3 separate regions of the Homo sapiens genome follow, and regions 1 and 3 are each linked to region 2. The links are contacts of gene promoters, found by promoter capture Hi-C in blood cells and fetal thymus (Javierre and others, 2016). All regions are on one chromosome and are shown on one strand. The core of a region is centred on a gene start or on the middle of the fragment in contact, and the rest is flanking DNA. Distances in the headings are between cores, read along the strand shown. Region 1 has its middle 66 kb from the start of SH3BGR. Region 2 holds the start of PCP4 (Purkinje cell protein 4). Region 3 overlaps DSCAM (DS cell adhesion molecule).

Region 1 (3,676 bases), core at 1,017-3,516, 350 kb before region 2:
GAAACGGCTCTTTTCTTGTTACCCTAGTAACAAAAAAAGGCATTTTGAATAGAATTAGGTTATTTTGTTTCCAATCATTGAAGTAGTCTGTGTTAAAAACATTTCTCCCTTTGCTTAAGGTAAAAGACCACAGTAAAATGGAAATTCATATAATTGAAAATTAATTTCTACTTTTAATTTCATTGCACTAAATTATGTCCTATCTAAAAAGCTTGCATAATTTTTACAACAACCCCCTACACAAATAGGCCTTAACTTTCTTCTTCTTGCTCAGGGCTGACTTTTCTCTCTTTCATGGCAGAGTAGGATGGAGATAGATTTAGTTAGGTGCCAATTTTCCTCCTATTTCTCTCTCTCTCTCTCTCTTTTTTTTTTTTGAAACAGAGTCTTGCTCTATCGCCCAGGCTGGAGTTCAGTGGCAGGATCTCAGCTCACTGCAACCTCCGCCTCCCAGGTTCAAGCAATTCTCCTGCCTCAGCCTCCTGAGTAGCTGTGATTACAGGCACGTGCCACTACGCCCAGCTAATTTTTGTATTTTTAGTAGAGACAGGGTTTCACCATATTGGCCAGGCTGGTCTGGAACTCCTGTCCTCAAGAGATCTGCCCACCTTGCTATTTCTCATATTTTAAAAAGAAAATAAATATCTATGCTGACAATAAGCAAAGATAAAAACCCAGACCACTTATTTAAATTGAATTAATTTTTTCTTATATTGTTTTCCTGTAGTCAGAAACATTAACATCTTAGAAGGGTATTTGTATTTGCTCCTGTTTCATTTTATTTAAAGTATCACTGAAATGCAAAAATCACTTAGATCAATAGTACCCTATGGATGGTATCAGTTCTCTTCTAGTTTTGGCTTCAGCTGTCCCTTCAGCCTTCCATGGTTAGCAATCCAGTGGCACAGTGAGGAGAATCCCAGATATGGACTGTATGGTATCAAAATACGATTAAAAAATCTGAATGCTTTTCAATATAGGAAGCTTCTAGAAACTAAGCAGCATTGTGAATCTGTAAAAAAGAATAACTCACAAGGAAACCCCAAGTGAATAAGGAAAATCATTTTGAAGAAAAACCAAAAGAGACCAGAGAAATGGAATAATTGCATGATGATCTGAAGTGAATCGAAGTTCAAAGAGCTTGGTTTAATAGTATAAAGGAGGCCTGAACACGCAAAGGAACTGTTTCTTTTCTTTCCTTTTTTTTTTTTTTAATTAGAAAAGCAACTACACAAAAATTTGAGTGTATTTTTTTTCCAGCCACTGAACAATACACTCTCCTTTCCCCACTCTCCTCTCCTGGGCTCCCTCTCGTTTCTTTGGACTGAAATCTTCCTTTGTGGTTGTCTTTGAGTTCTTAGTTTTCTCAATGAAATGTGAAAGGTATAGGAAGAGAATGAACTGTATTGCCTGCAAAGATTCTTTGGAAATATTTACAGATTTTTTTTCTTTTTTTTTTTTTGGAGACAGTGTCTCGCTCTGTCGCCAGGGTGGAGCGCAGTGGCACTCTCACTGCAAGCTCTGTCTCCCAGGTTCAAGTGATTCTCCTGCCTCAGCTGCCGGAGTATCTGGGACTATAGGCCTGCACTACCATGTTTGGCTAATTTTTGTATTTTTAATAGAGATGGGGTTTCACCGTGTTGGACAGGCTGGTCTCGAACTCTGACCTCAGGCAATCTGCCCACTGCAGCCTCCCAAAATACTGGGATTACAGGCGTGAGCCACCATGCCCAGCCTACAAATGTTTTCTTTCAAAACTCATTTACCCGGGCCAGGTGTGGTGACTTATGCCTGTAATCCCAGCACTTTGGAAGGCCGAGGTGGGTGGATTGCCTGAGCCCAGGAGTTCAAGACCAACCTGGGCAACATAGCAAGACCCCATCCCTACAAAAAATACAAAAATCAGCCAGGCATGGTTGCGTGTGCTTGTAGTTCCAGCTACTCGGGAGGCCAAAGTGGGAGGATTGCTTGAGCCAGCACTCTAGCCCAGCCCATTGATCACGCTACTGCTCTCCAGCCCGAGTGACAGAGCAAGACCCTTTCTCAAAAACAAAACAAAACAAAACAAAAAAACCGCACCTCATTTAACTGTTAACACCTGTGCAAGCACGGCAAGTAGGTGTGAAGGGCCTGGTACATTGTAATAACAGAGAATGGCCATTAGGTGGCGATAAAAGACAAGCTTCTTGCTATGGTGTCGCTGCCCCCGAGGTCCCCTGGCTGTGAACCCGAGTCAGGGTACTGCTAGTTGACATTAGAAGGTGGGAAGAGGTATTTGTCAACCAGATGGAGGAAAATAGACAAAAACTCTACTTATAATTAATTTGTGAATTAATTAGTGTATCATTTATAAAGCTTTTATCCAAGATAACTTTATTTTGGGCCAAATGTGCATTTATTGTTTGAATGCACATCCTTGCATTATACAAAAGGAGCCTAAATTCAGTCAACAACTGATTGCATGTTGACAATTTTGATAAAGATACGGGGTCTTTTAGCCTCTAATGGGGTTCTATCTTATCAAATAAGTAAAAACAGAACTCTGATTATTGAAGGGGTTGATTATCCTTTTCTTTCGCAAGACTTTTAGTTCGAATAGAACATATGTCCAAATATTTGGAAATATATTCACGATCCTAACAAAGGCATTCCTTTCACAGTTGTCTAGGTTACTTGGCTTTTTCACTACTTTGTTTTGGAAGGACTTTCTTGGAAGTAGTAAAACTGAGTTGGGAAATCTTTAAAATGTATCAGTGCATCTGGCTGTTTTCCAAATCAGAAGTCAGGAGATTGTTCAATGATGCGGAAATGTACTCAGGTGTGGAAGATTCCAGTTGGGGAGGGGCTCAGGTGGACAGGTGTGAGTAGCATAGAGGGGGCGTGGAGTGGGGGCTTAACCTGGGGGGCTCCTGGTTCCAGTCCGGCATTCTGTAGATTTAGCACCCGGATCTTGTCAGGGGAGGTGAGAGAAACCTCCGAGGCAGACTCCCATGAATCAAGCTCACAGTCTAGGCTTACAATCAGGGTGTGGGCTTTCCTATTATTTTTATTCACTAACACTAACGGAGTGCCTGCTATGAGCCGGGCTCTGTATTAAAGGCTTCGTGTGTTGCCACAGTAACCCGATGAGGTGGATACCATCTTTATCTGGCAAGGAGGAAACTGAGGCACCGGGTTTCAATTCAGTACTTCGGCAATGGCTGAACCGAAGCTGAGATATACCTGTGTCCCACTCCAAAGCCACGAACAGCCTTCCCAACAAGCCCTTTCCTCTCGGTCCTGGACCACAGTACGGTTCCTCTACGGTGCCTGGCTGGCCGTGGGCAGTGTGCGCCTTGGCCCCAGAGCGCCTCCTCCGCCTGGCTTTGGTCCTCGCATTCTGTCTTCAGACTCGATGCCGTTCGGGCCCTGGTGCAAGGTGCCTTGCCCTTCTCACTTACTATCCACCTATTTTGTTTTCTTAGTTGCACCATCAGAGGTCTATTCCATTACCTTCATCTTCCAGTTCTTTGGGCCGCTAGCTGTGGCCGCCACCACCAGCGCCAGTTACAGAGGGAACTGGGTCACTGTCCACCCACAGGGTTCTAGAAATTGGTCAGTGGCCTCAGATCCGAAGTTTCAGGTTGCAGAGAGAAAATACTAAAACTGCCACCTGCCTTTTCCAGCCTGGTTGTCC
Region 2 (3,559 bases), core at 261-2,760:
CTCTCCCACTACTAACCACCTGGGCAACCCTAAAGGCATCCCACGTGGGCCTTCCCAAGCGTGGCATTGGGGGCAAGGAGGAGGAGGGGAGTGAGAGAAGGAGGATGCTGTCTTCATTAGTTTGCAAATGATTTGTGTGGTCAGGATATGTAAATAAATAATTTATATACATATAAAAGAAACGAATATAACACACATATTTTATATAATATATATAATGTTCATTTCTGTCGCTCTGTGAAATATAGGTTATTTTATAATAACTCATGTATGAGACTCTGTCTTGCTGGCTGGTGTTCCCACGCTGTGGGCGAGGGTGCTGACCAGCTGGTGCTCCTGGCCAAGGCCTCTGAGGGCAGCCTGTGCTCGCCGGTGCCCATTTGGGGGCGCATGGCCTTCTGCTTGCTGTCCAAGGTGGACCTGAGGATGTGGTCGCATCGGTGACCTGGGCATGTAAGGAGGGCAGTCCAGGTCAGAGGGCGTGGGGCTGCTGAGCTGAGGAGAGAGGGTTGATGGGCTGGAGTCTGGTGGCCTGCTCTGCACAGGGAGATGAGGGGTGCTGGGGACGGGTGGCAAGACGCTTCAATCTTCTCGCCAGACCCTCTCAGTCCTGTACCGGGACTGGCAGAGTAACAGATGTGAATGTGCCTTCAGTCTGCACAACGCTTTTTTGGGACAGTTGAGGGCCCACTCTGATGCCTTGAAGACTCTTCAGAGCCTCACGATGTTGGGACTGAACAAAGGATGGAACCTCTTCCCGGAAAAGCTGAACAGGACTAAGGCAAGGAGACCTTCAACCAGGCCAGGGCCAATGCCCAGGCTCCTTCCTGGCCCCACTGTGGTTGTGAGGAGGGCACATCAGCAAGGCTGCTGGAGCCGCTCGCCTCCTTTGTTGAGGTCGTGGGGACCCATTCCCATGTCCCAGTCCATCTACTCTTATCCTTCCAGCTCAGGGTACAAGCAGGGCGACAGATATGGGATAGGGGAGAGACAGCAGAGATATTAAAGTCCTTGGGCTGAGTTTTGTGTTATAAAGGGCAAGGGAAACACAGCTCCTGGGAAAACCTGAAAGTGCGTGAGCGGGCACGCAGGTATTTTCAGAGCTCCTCTTCCCTTAGAAAAACAATCCTTCCCATTGACATTTGAAAGGTATTTTACATGCATGTAAATCTTGCACTCATTGAAAAACGCACAATGGCATCCCTGTGATGATCTTTGAAACTTTAGCTTTTACTTTTTACTTTTTTTTTTTTTTTAAAAGAGACAGGGTCTCGTTCTGCTGCCCAGGCTGGAGTGTATTACTTTTTAAAGAAATCGAGCATTTCCTTCCATCCTGGCGGAATTTGGAGCAGCGACCTAACGTGCCGTTCTCTTTTGCACCACTAGGTGGCCCCTGGTGCTCTCAGATGTCGGCCAGGCTTGCAGACAGGTGAATGCATCTCATTGGCTCCAGGGAGGCATGATGCCACCGGGCAGCTCTTTTTAAGAGAAAAGCCAGAACCGGTGGAGCAGCGACCCCTGAGCAGTGTTCTCTGTGCTGAGCGGCGGGACTGAGCTGTTGAGTTAGAGCCAACATGAGTGAGGTGAGTGATGCTTCGACCTGGAGAGGGAAACTTAGGAGTGAGAAGGGACCTCGGCTGAAGGATTAGTCTCAGGAAATGTGAGGGACTTAGCAGTGCTGAGGAACAAATTAATCCTGTAATTATTTGCTTGGAGAACTGACAGGATTAATCTCTTGGTTTGAATGGTAAGTGCAGAAATTGGTTAAGTTTGCAACTTCTACAATTAGCCTGAGGAGGAGAAAGGTTTGCTTTCTGATTGAATGGTGACTTTGAAAAGTGCTTTGGGTTTTAGAGCTCAGAAGAGAAAGCCAAATGTTTTATTCTCTTACGAAGATGCGTGTCTTTGCATGATTCCCGCGGTGATACCTTTCAGAATGTGAGTGGGCAGGTGGTCATCTGGTGAATGCAAGCCATGGAAGGGAAGGGGACAAGGTGGGGAAAGGGCTGGCCGTTGGGTGGCATTTCATGGCTCAGTTGTACAAACTACCTCTGCAGTTAATCAGAGCACCAGGGAAAGAAATGCAAAAAGTAGTAGGAACTGGGAAACATCCGTGTGTATAGATCTGTGGCTCTAAGACCGGAGGCGGCCCCGGCAGAAGAAGAGCTACAATTTTGCAAATCCAAAGTCACTTCTCTAAACTTGTTTATACAGAATGTGTTTTACTGGGGCCAACTGACAGCACGTTTGTTTTTCTAAAATCATCTTCTCCTTTTTTCTCATCTATGAAGCAGATTAGCGGTGGTACAACACCATTCTCTAATTCAACTCAATAACCGAGCCAAATGCATCTTCATTTCCTCTTGGTTGGCACTTAAATAATTACTTTTAAAGATCTTTTATCTTCTCTGTCTCTTTTTGACAGATGGATGATTCTTTTCTTGGAAGTCTAGGATAAAATTAACAACTTCAGAAATAAAATGCCTCCTCCCTGCTTTTATCTCTCTGATGGGTGATTTTTGATGTAAACATGACAAGAAGAAGAGCAAAGCACTATAAAACTTAGAAATGGGGTTTAGGACAAAGCCAGGGGTTTGAGGCAGGGAGAGACCAACTGTGGGGTGGAAGATGGGAATTCTCCCACCACCACAATCAATGGTACCTGTAACAGCAGCTAACACTTGCCTAATGGTCTGTGTGCCGACAGTGTCAGGCTGTCTCTGCATCTGTCACCTTCTTTGAACCTCTCAACAACTCCGTGCAGTGGGCACCATTATTATTCCCAATTGACAGATGAGGACACTGAGGCACAGAGATGGGAACTAAGTGGTTTGAGGTCACCAGCTAAAGAACAGTAGAGCCAAGACTTGGGCTGCAATGCTGGGTGGTTGACTGCCGGGTGAATCTTGATGTCTAAATGTGTATGGAATTTGCTGAACAGAGGGGATGGCAGAGGTTGGAGGAGGAGAGGGGAGGTGAAGAGAAAGAAAGAAAGGAGCTGGGGCTCTGAAATAGAGATGGAATGATGAGGATGAGACCTCCATTTCCCACATGCTAGGAGGAGGGGCTTTCTGCTGGACTCTACAGATATTTCAGAAGCTTCTGTGTCCACATCAGCTCACCTTGCTTGCAACAAGAAGGGATGGCTGCGTGGAGTGGTTTTTCTTTATATACAACTTATCCAATAAGAGTTTCCTATAGAAGAAGGACTTAGAAAGCAGCACAGCACTGAGGGGTGGCCTCTCGGGTCAAGTCAGCTACCCTGGGATTCTGGCTCAGTCATGCCGTCACTTGCTGAGGCTTCTGGCCAGCAAGGTGCTCATGAGCTCTCCAGGATGCTCAGCTCTGCTGGGCTCACTCAACTGTGCGGGTCTCCAGGGAGAAAGCGCGTGTTCCAGAGCTCACCTGTGATTAGGGTCACAGCCTGGTTCCTGCTGAACGGGTAATCAGGGCAGCTCTGTAGTCACCGCCCCGCCATGGCGCTTATCAGACACATTTGCAGGTTCTTGCAGGAGCTCTTGCCTTAGTTCCTTTAATGTGGATAAAAGCACACAAGGGG
Region 3 (3,636 bases), core at 30-2,529, 260 kb after region 2:
GATTAACAGCATATTGAAAACCACATAAGAAGCCCAGAAAAATGTTGTGGAGTCTAACTCTGACTATTTACGTTTACATATTGACTTCAAGGGCAGAGTACTGCCATGAATGCATAAGCAGTAGAGAACACACCTTGCTTTTTCAGCAACAGACGGAACTTCATGGGCCAAGCAAGCCCACACACTCTCACACACTCACTGTTGGGGTACACCAGGCCTCAGGGGCACCTGTGGACTCTGAGCTTGGGCAAACATATCACCTTGATTAAAAGATTAATCCATAAATTTGTTTGGGAATATTTTTCAGCCCTAACAAGGAAGGAGATTCCATCGCATGCTACAACATGGATGAACCTTGAGGATATCATGTCAAGTGAAACGAGCTGGTCACTAAATGACAAATGCTATATCATTCCACATGCATGAGGTCCCTAGAGGAGTCAAATCCAGAGACAGAAAGTAGAATGGTGGGTGCCATGGGCTGGTGGGAGGGAGGATAGGGAATTCGTGTTTAATGGGGACAGAGTTTCGGTTTTGTAGAGTTCTGGAGATGGATGGTGGTGATGGCTTCACAACAACGTGAAGGTATGTAATACTGATGAACTCAATAATCAAAGTGGTCAAGAGGGTAAGTTTTACGTTATGTGTATTTTACCAGAAAGGAAACAAAACCAGTGTGTATATTCACTCAACAAACGCTTAGTGAATGACTACATGTGTCAAGTTCTATGCTGGGAGCTGGAGATACAAAGATGGAAGAGACATGGCACCTGCTGCAGAAAATGTCATAATGTTTCCATGAAGACATCGTCAATTTTGGTGGGTCATTTTAATGTTTTCTTTTCTTTAAAATTTCCCTTTTTGATATGTTTTGGTGTGGTCTCAGAAGCAGTCTAACTTTATAATGATTATTCAGCAGGAATAATATGAACGATAACAAAAACCACACTTTGAAATAGTAAATAACTTTTAGTTCCTTCACAATGAACCAGGCTGACTGCTGTAACTGTAAGGGTAATAGATCTTCATTAAAGTCCCTCATTTCTAGCACAATAGGGTTTTGCCTGCTATTCTTTTCCCTGTGAGAGATGGAGGAGGGAAAGAAGGGAGGGATAGGGTGGGAGGGAAGGAAGGAGGGAGGGAAGGAGGGAGGGAGGGAGAAGGGAGGGAGGGAAGGCGTGAAGTGCTTATCATGATGAGTCCAACAGTAAAATCAATAGGTGTTGTCCACTGACTATCAATTAAGGCACAATCAAGGCCTCTGGGTTTTGATTTTGATCAGGCTGCTGGCAGTTTAGTGGGAACTCACCAAATAAACAATAATTCCAGACAATTGTCCCCCTTGTCATGATTCAGGAGCGTATTTTCAAATGAGGTGTAAATGAGGACTTTGTTTTGTATGTGGAGACAGCAGGGGCAAAACAAAACCACTGGAAAGACCCAGGTAGGTGGGAAACAAAGGAACGAAACTGTCCAGTGCGAGCACCTGCAGCTCGTCCCTGGCAGACGCTTGAAAGGCACTTGGTTATTTACCAACTTACTGTGGGATAGGGGTGGGAGCAGAATACAGTGTACTTTCGGATGATGCCGTTCAGCTTGAGAGGGGGAAGCCAGGACACAAAGACCATGGAGGCTGAGGCCGCCGCTGCCTTCACACCCGCGGGAGGACCTGGAACTGGAAGAGCCGTGTGTTTAGTCACAAGGTGGGGCCTCAACTTGGGCTTGCGGACCCACGCTTCCCAACATGACCCCACTCCGCACTTACTGTTCAGCTCTTTCAGGATGAGCGTTATGGGTTCCGCTGTGTCCCCCCAAATGCATATGTTGAAGTCCTAACCCCCAGGACCACAGAATGACACTGTAATTGGAGGTAGGGTCTTTACAGAGGTAATCAAGTTAAAATGAGTTTGTTAGGGTGGTCCCTAATCCAGTACTTCTGGTGTCCTTATAAAAAGGGCCAGTTTGGACACAGAGACAGACATGTATAGAGGGAAGATGATGTGAAGACACAGGGAGAAGAGGGCATCTATAAGCCAAGGAGAGAAGCCCAGGACAGATGCTTGTCTCAAAGCTCTTAAAGAGAACCAGCCCTGCAGACACCTTGATTTTGGACTTCTGGCCTCCAGAACTCAGAGACAGCAAATAAATTCCTAATGTTGGAGTCTGTGGTCCTTTGTAGCTCTAGGACCTAATACAGTCAGTTCTAGTCCCTCTTGTCCTGGGGAGTCTTCCCAACCCATTTCAGCCCCTGGCAACTTCCTGCCTCTGGATAACTGGAGAATTAACTTCTGGATCAGTCTCATTTCTGCTGCAGTTTTTGGCTTTGAATGTACTGGGGATGAACCTTTTGGATCCTGAATTTGAGAAGCATGAGGGTGAACTACCTCAGCCATCAGAGACCCCACCCTCCCTCACCCTAGTCATTTTGTAATGGCACCACTTTGGGCTCAGGAGAGGTATGGAAATATTGTTGATGAATAGGGATTATTGGGTCAAAGATTCACAGTATCCATGTAAGACAAACTCTCCTCTGTAAACCAGCTAAGAAGGCAGAACATGGTGGCAGCAATACTAAGCATGATTTGGGAGTGAGATTGAAGGCATGTCCCACTCCTCTTGTTCTTTTATTTTCCAGGTTGAAGAGGTGAGGGCGGGTGAGATGGCCAAGACAAGAAGATGCCAAAATGTCAAAGGTGCCAGTGAGGAAGGCATCAGAGCTCTTGCTTTGTTTCTCATTAACCTCACTGTCCATATGGAGGGCAACCACATTGATGGAGACATTGAAATTCAAACCAATAGAAGTCCCTTGCAAGCCCCTGGAGAAATCTGTGAGTCTTTTACTGCTTTGATGGCAATGCAACTGCTCAGTAAATTGTTTTGGAGTTGAATGTGCTTCTCATAATCGTCACCTTGACTCTTCTAAGTCTGCATAACAAAACCAAGAGCTCTGGTGAGAACTAACTTGGGTTGGACATAGTCACCATTTGAAAATATAAAATCTTGGTAATCCATTTTTGGCAAGTCTTGCTAACAGTGGAAGGTCTAGAAAAGGTAACACACATAAATGATAGATCCTGGGTTAAAAAATCCCTTGAGAACAAACCTCTATCAGGTGAGGGTAATGTCTAAGACATCCACAACCTAGTTCAGAGCTGCCAGGGTTCCTCCTGAACAACAAGGGCAGAGTGAACGTTTCCTGGGGATTTTAATCCTAGTAGACACCCCAGCTTAGCCAACACTCTCAGTCCTTTCCATAAAGCCCCTGGTTGGTGTTCACCACAGTGAACATTCTTGCTGGACAGCTTCTCTTTAGGAGGCCAAGTAGTTTAGCACCAACCAGTTGAATGGCTGCTGAAGAGGAGTCAGTTGTATTTGTTTCCAACCTGTTTGTGACAATTGTACGTGTCATGGGTAGTACTGTAAGTTAATTAATTACGTAAACCAATGAAATTCAAGTGCAAGAGAAAGCTGTTTCTATGACAGTTAATGGGACTACTTTGGAAAGCCTTCCTTAGAGGTAAGTTAGAAAAGAAATTAAAAAGAGAAAGAAATGAAGGAGGGAAGAACAAAAGGAATGAAGGAGGGAAGGAAGGAAGAAAGGAAAGAGGGAAGAAAAAAGAAAGGAAGGAAGGAAGG

The links. The method cuts DNA at HindIII sites, captures the fragments that hold promoters and counts their contacts. A CHiCAGO score of 5 or more calls a contact.
Region 1: a fragment that was not itself captured here is called in contact with the fragment with the promoter of PCP4 in region 2 in 1 of 17 cell types (M1 macrophages); the score reaches 5.3 in M1 macrophages.
Region 3: a fragment that was not itself captured here is called in contact with the fragment with the promoter of PCP4 in region 2 in 7 of 17 cell types (naive B cells, M1 macrophages, M2 macrophages and 4 more); the score reaches 9.3 in naive B cells.

The regions. Positions count from the first base shown.
Region 1 is chr21:39,516,324-39,519,999 of GRCh38, forward strand. No RefSeq gene overlaps it. Among named protein-coding and RNA genes, the nearest start is that of SH3BGR, 66 kb to the left of the region's middle. The HindIII fragment of the contact is 173 bases long and covers 2,181-2,353 here.
Region 2 is chr21:39,865,928-39,869,486 of GRCh38, forward strand. PCP4 (Purkinje cell protein 4) reads left to right here and starts at 1,511. Exons shown (of 3, transcript NM_006198.3): 1 at 1,511-1,583. The coding sequence starts at 1,575. RefSeq lists a silencer at 3,409-3,559. The HindIII fragment of the contact is 4,692 bases long and covers 1-3,097 here.
Region 3 is chr21:40,122,654-40,126,289 of GRCh38, forward strand. It overlaps DSCAM (DS cell adhesion molecule), which reads right to left. Exons shown (of 33, transcript NM_001389.5): 20 at 1,542-1,675. Among named protein-coding and RNA genes, the nearest start is that of MIR4760, 88 kb to the right of the region's middle. The HindIII fragment of the contact is 6,076 bases long and covers 1-3,636 here.